2 separate regions of the Homo sapiens genome follow, and region 1 is linked to region 2. Evidence: promoter capture Hi-C in human tissues and cell types (Jung and others, 2019). All regions are on one chromosome and are shown on one strand. The core of a region is centred on a gene start or on the middle of the fragment in contact, and the rest is flanking DNA. Distances in the headings are between cores, read along the strand shown. Region 1 holds the start of ING5 (inhibitor of growth family member 5). Region 2 holds the start of OR6B2 (olfactory receptor family 6 subfamily B member 2).

Region 1 (2,866 bases), core at 80-2,579, 1.7 Mb before region 2:
GGGCTGCCTCCTCCAGTCTTGGCCACCCTCCCATCTGCTGTTCACAGTTACCAGGCAATCATTTTAAACCTAACTCTATCTTATGCATCTGATGCTTCCAGCCCCAGTGTTTTCCCAGCTCCCCTAGAGGACAGAGGCACAGCCTCCCGGCTGGCACAGCCTCCCAGACACACACAAAGTCAACCCTCCTTGGGAGGCCAGCCCACTGGCTGGGCACCAGGATAGAGAAGGCCTCCCCTCCAGCGTGCTCCCCAGCTTGACTCTTCTACCCAGGGAACCCCCCACTACTCAGACCCCCAAGAGACAGCGGAGCACATGGGCAGAATCGGGCGTCCCTCTAGGGCAGCGGTCTCCAGCTCCAGGCCACGGCTCACTCGCCACTGTCTCAGCCCCTGGGCGGGTGCCAGGCCGAAGACCATGAGGATCCCCAGTGCAGCGCCCCCACAAGGGCCCTCCAGAGCCACCCGGCACAACCCCAAACACCGCGACCCCAAAGCTGTGCCCATCCCGGGCCGACGTCAGGGGTCCCGCGTGGGGTCTGCCCCTCTACGAGCGGGAGACCCTGAGCAGGCTGCTCGGCAGCGCTGGACCTTCCCTGGTGTGTAAAGTGAGGGAAAGCACCGTCCGCTCAGCCGCTGGGGGCGCCGACCTGCTGCCACCTGGAAACAGCACAGCCCGCCCACCAGGGCCGACTCGGCACCGCCCTCCCCGCCTCCGCGCCGCAGTCCCCAGTGCCGGGGAGAGACGCCCCGCGGCCCGCACGCCCTCCCCAGCCGCGGTCACACAAGAGGCCGGCGCACACGGGCGCACAGCCAGGCGGAGGCCCAGACCCCGGAGCCCCCAAGGCCCGGAGCCCCGCAGCGGGCGCCAGCTCCTCCTGCAGACGGGACAGGGACGGGCGGGACCTGGCGGGGCCGGGGCCGGAGCTGGGGGCGGAGATGAGGCGGGGCCTGGGTAGGGGCGGGACCTAATATGTGGGCGGGGTCGAGGCCGCAAGCCCCGCCCAGCATCGCCAGGCCCCGCCCCGCCGTGACGCACCTGGAATTGGCGCGACCCAGCCGGCGGGACCCCCCGCGCCCGCCCCCCGCGCCCTCCCCTCCCTTGCGGCCCTGCCCCGCCCCGTCCGCGCGCCCCCCGTCGCGCCCGGCCGCGCCCGCCGCCCTCCCGAGCCCACGGGGTCTGCATGCGGTGCCCGGCGCGCGGGGGGCTGCGGCACGGAGGACTCCGCGTGGGCGGCGGGCGCGGGGCCCGTGGGGCGCGCTTACTGTCCAGATAGTGCTCCAAGTACATGGCGGTCGCCATCTTCGTCCGCGGCCGCGCTCGGGGTCTGCGCGGGCGGGCGGTGCCGCGGGAGGCGGGGGCGGGGCGGTGCCAGCGCGCTCACTATTCATGAGTCGCGCGCGCTGATTGGTCGCGCCCGGGGGCGGGGTCGGACACGCCTTTCAGCTTCCGGCGGGCGGCGGGCTGCGGGGCCCGGGCGGAGGTTGTGGCAGCGGCGTCGGGCAGCGAGCAGGACCCAGGGCCGCAGCGGATCGGAGGCCGAGGAGGAGCAGGGGTTCCCGGCCCCACCGCCCGGCGTGCGGCCCAGGGCACCCAGGTGGGCGTCTCCCCTCCGCACCTGTCAGCGACCCCTGGGCCACCAAACGCAAACACGTGGTCCCGGGGACCTCACGCCCGTCCTGACGGCGCCCACGCGACCCCTGCTCCCGGCCGGGTCCCGGACAGGCCGCCACGAGGCCCTCCCTTCCCGAAGGCTCCTTGGGACCTGTCTGGCTCAGCGCCTTTCCCCCGGACCCCGAGCCCCCGGGGCCTCAGCCCGGCCTGAGCCGAGGGCCGGCACCGCGTGGCCCGGGCGAGCTGCCCCTCCCTCAGGGCCTGGGCCCTGGCGCCCTTCCCCCGCCAACGCCGCCCCTTCCCTCCGAGGAAAGCGGCCGCCCCGCCCAGCACCAGTGAGGGCACTGGCTCCTTTGCTGCCACCTCTCGAGGCAGGCAGGACCCGCACCATCTGGATGCCTTGGCCGAAAAGGCACGTGCGGCAGTATGATATAGTTAATAAGATGGCGTGCAAAGGTGTGCCGTAAGATGCATGCAAAAATACTGGAGAAGGCCGGCGCGCTGGCGCACGCCTGTAATCCCATCACTTTGGGAGGCCGAGGCGGGCGGATCACTTGAGGGCAGGAATTTGAGACCAGCCTGGCCAACGTGTTGAAACCCCGACTCTACTAAAAATACAAAAAAAAAAAAAAATTAGCCAAGCGTGGTGGCGCACGCCTGTAGTCCCAGCTACTCCGGAGGCTGAGCCCGGGAGGCGGAGGTTGTAGTGAGCTGAGATCGCGTCTGCACTCCAGCCTGGGCGACAGAGCAAGACTCTGTCTTCAAAAAAAAAAAAGAAAATTTTAAGAAAAAAAAAATACTGGAGAAACATAATTAAAATATGTTTCAGACTCGGCACGGTGGCTCACGCCTGTAATCCCAACACTTTGGGAGGCCGAGGCGGGCGGATCACTTGAGGGCAGGAATTTGAGACCAGCCTGGCCAACGTGGCGAAATCATGTCTCTACTAAAAATACAAAAATTACCCGGGCGTGGTGGCGGGCGCCTGTACTCCCAGCTACTCGGAGACTGAGGCAGGAAAATTACTTGAACTTGGGAGAGGGAGGTTGCAGTGAGAAGAGATCATGTAACTGCACTGCAGCTTGGGTGACAAGAGCAAGACTCCGTCTCAAAATAATAATAATACAAAAACTAGCCGGGCATGGTGGCAAGTACCTGTAATCCCAGATACTCGGGAGGCTGAAACAGGAGAATCGCTTGAGCTTGGGAGGCGGAGGTTGCAGTGAGCCGAGATTGCACCACTGCACTCCAG
Region 2 (2,811 bases), core at 261-2,760:
TTGTCTAACAAGTTCAGGGGATGGATAGAGTGTGCTGTAAAGGGCCCTGAATTTGTAAAGTAACACAGTTTCAATTTAATGAATCAATCCGGTATTAACTAGCCAACTCACTAATGATCAGTTACCACTATCCAAATAATCAAGAGAAATCTATAGGTGCCTCTACTGTTCTGGGTTAAAAGCACAAGAACCAAAGCTCACTACCCCCACCGCCAGCTCTCCCCAGCAAACCCAGTCAACAGGTGGGGGCTGCTGGCCTTCCAAGGAGCTCCTGTGGACCCCAACTTTCCTCCTTGTGGACTTTAAAGCCCCCTGTGGCCACTCAGCTGGGAAGAGGACACAGTCACCACCCTGGATGGTGTCTAGAGAGGCTACATTCAGACTCACATCTTGAGACCCCTTTAATGGCAGGGGTTCTTATTGCTTTTGTTTTGGGGAGACAGTAGGCGGTGACTGGAGTGAGTAGTAAATGCTTGTGAAATTGATCCTAAACTCTGAACTGCACGCTGGCATTTTAAGGCAGGGAATGGCCATGCCGCCCCAGTGGATGATCTTGGGTTCCCACAGAATGCTCACCCTAGACGGCAGGAGTACAGGTGCGTTTCCAAGTGTAAACCTGTCCCTGGGCAATTCCCTTCTAGAAGTTTGTTTTTCAGCCTGCAACTCTTCCATGAACTCGACTTGTCTAGCCAACCCCCTACACGTCACCATGAGGCTCTCCAGTAAGTGCCGCGCACCACGCCTCCCCAGCACAGACTCCAGATTATTCGGCACCCACCTGGCCCTCTCCTAGTCTTCTCATCAATTTTTAGCATCCTGGGCCAGAAACCTGGGGTCACCCTCCCCAGCTGTGAGCTGGTGGAAGTCTGCCATTCAACCCACCTAGACTGCCAATGAAAAGAACCACCAGATGCCCTGTGGGGCAAGGGGCTGTGGCTACCCTCTCTCTCCCCCACCTGTGGACCAGGTCCCCCAGAGCCAGGCAGCCCTTTCCTGGGAGCCCTCCCTGCATTCCTCCGGCTGGTTAGCCCAGTTTGGGGTTCTGCCCTGGTAGGCTGATAGCCCCTCACCTCATGCCGAGGCTGCTGCCCCGACTTGCAGGAACCCTCAGATGAAGGACCCTAAGGAGGGCCAGCTCTGTGTCCATGCCCACTTGGATCTTGAGAGCTGCCCCAGGCACGTGTGGACTGGTAGTGCCCCTGGACTCAGAGCTTTGGGTTTTGCCCACCCTGGAGCTGCCCGGCTCTGTTCCTCAGCATATACTCTCTTCCTCATTCCTACTTCATGGTTATATGTAAATGCAAGCACACAGAAGTTTTCTACTTTAAAACTCAGAAGATCAGCAGATCACTGCTCTCTCCTGGTGCTCTGGGGAGCCACGTGGCCTCTCTTTGCACCAAAACTCCCCATCCAAGTCCAGCTCCACTCTCTCTCTGCCTCAGCTGCCCTGCAGCCCTTTCCTCTTGCTCTTTGATGTTTTGTAGGCCTGCAGCTCCCAAGCACAGAGGCATGAGTGGGGAGAATGTCACCAAGGTCAGCACCTTCATCCTGGTGGGCCTCCCCACGGCCCCAGGGCTGCAGTACCTGCTCTTCCTCCTCTTCCTGCTCACCTACCTCTTTGTCCTGGTGGAGAACCTGGCCATCATCCTCATCGTCTGGAGCAGCACCTCCCTCCACAGGCCCATGTACTACTTTCTGAGCTCCATGTCTTTCCTGGAGATCTGGTACGTGTCTGACATCACCCCCAAGATGCTGGAGGGCTTCCTCCTCCAGCAGAAACGCATCTCTTTCGTCGGGTGCATGACGCAGCTCTACTTCTTCAGCTCCCTGGTGTGCACCGAGTGTGTGCTTCTGGCCTCCATGGCCTACGACCGCTACGTGGCCATCTGCCACCCGCTGCGCTACCACGTCCTTGTGACCCCGGGGCTGTGCCTCCAGCTGGTGGGCTTCTCCTTTGTGAGTGGCTTCACCATCTCCATGATCAAGGTCTGTTTTATCTCCAGCGTCACGTTCTGTGGCTCCAACGTCTTGAACCACTTCTTCTGTGACATTTCCCCCATCCTCAAGCTGGCCTGCACGGACTTCTCCACTGCAGAGCTGGTGGATTTCATCCTGGCCTTCATCATCCTGGTGTTTCCGCTCCTGGCCACCATACTGTCATATTGGCACATCACCCTGGCTGTCCTGCGCATCCCCTCGGCCACCGGCTGCTGGAGAGCCTTCTCTACCTGCGCCTCTCACCTCACCGTGGTCACCGTCTTCTATACAGCCTTGCTTTTCATGTATGTCCGGCCCCAAGCCATTGATTCCCAGAGCTCCAACAAGCTCATCTCTGCCGTGTACACTGTTGTCACGCCAATAATTAACCCTTTGATTTACTGCCTGAGGAACAAGGAATTTAAGGACGCCTTGAAAAAGGCCTTGGGCTTGGGTCAAACTTCACACTAAGACAACTAAATGTCCTAGAGTAAAATCTGTAGTGATGAAACAACATTGTATGTGGCACTTTGTGCTCTTTAAATTAATTTTTAAGTTAAATTTAACAAACCTACAGAACTAAGTGAAATTTAACAAACCTACACAACTGTGCACAAGTAACAAGCCTTCGTCTGCATATGTTTTCACAAAAGGACTGTGCTCATGGAACCAGCTCCCAGATCAAGAACTAGAAGCTGCCTTCACGCCCTCTCCCAGTCATTAACCCTTCTCCACAAAAAGCACTGTCCTGACTTCCAAAACCAGATGCTAGCATTGGTGTTTCTGAGGGGCTTACACATAAAGTATGTGCCCTGTTATGTTCAGCTTCTTTCA

The links. Contacts are between HindIII fragments. The study calls those that stand out against the background at their distance.
Region 1: the fragment with the promoter of ING5 here is called in contact with the fragment with the promoter of OR6B2 in region 2 in 1 of the 25 tissues and cell types used here (bladder).

The regions. Positions count from the first base shown.
Region 1 is chr2:241,700,502-241,703,367 of GRCh38, reverse strand. ING5 (inhibitor of growth family member 5) reads right to left here and starts at 1,329. Exons shown (of 8, transcript NM_032329.6): 1 at 1,266-1,329. The coding sequence starts at 1,302. RefSeq lists enhancers at 211-840, 1,079-1,911 and silencers at 566-1,125, 1,310-1,473, 1,216-2,035. The HindIII fragment of the contact is 25,906 bases long and covers 1-2,866 here.
Region 2 is chr2:240,029,128-240,031,938 of GRCh38, reverse strand. OR6B2 (olfactory receptor family 6 subfamily B member 2) reads left to right here and starts at 1,510. Exons shown (of 1, transcript NM_001005853.1): 1 at 1,510-2,448. The coding sequence starts at 1,510. The coding sequence ends at 2,448. The HindIII fragment of the contact is 5,539 bases long and covers 1-2,433 here.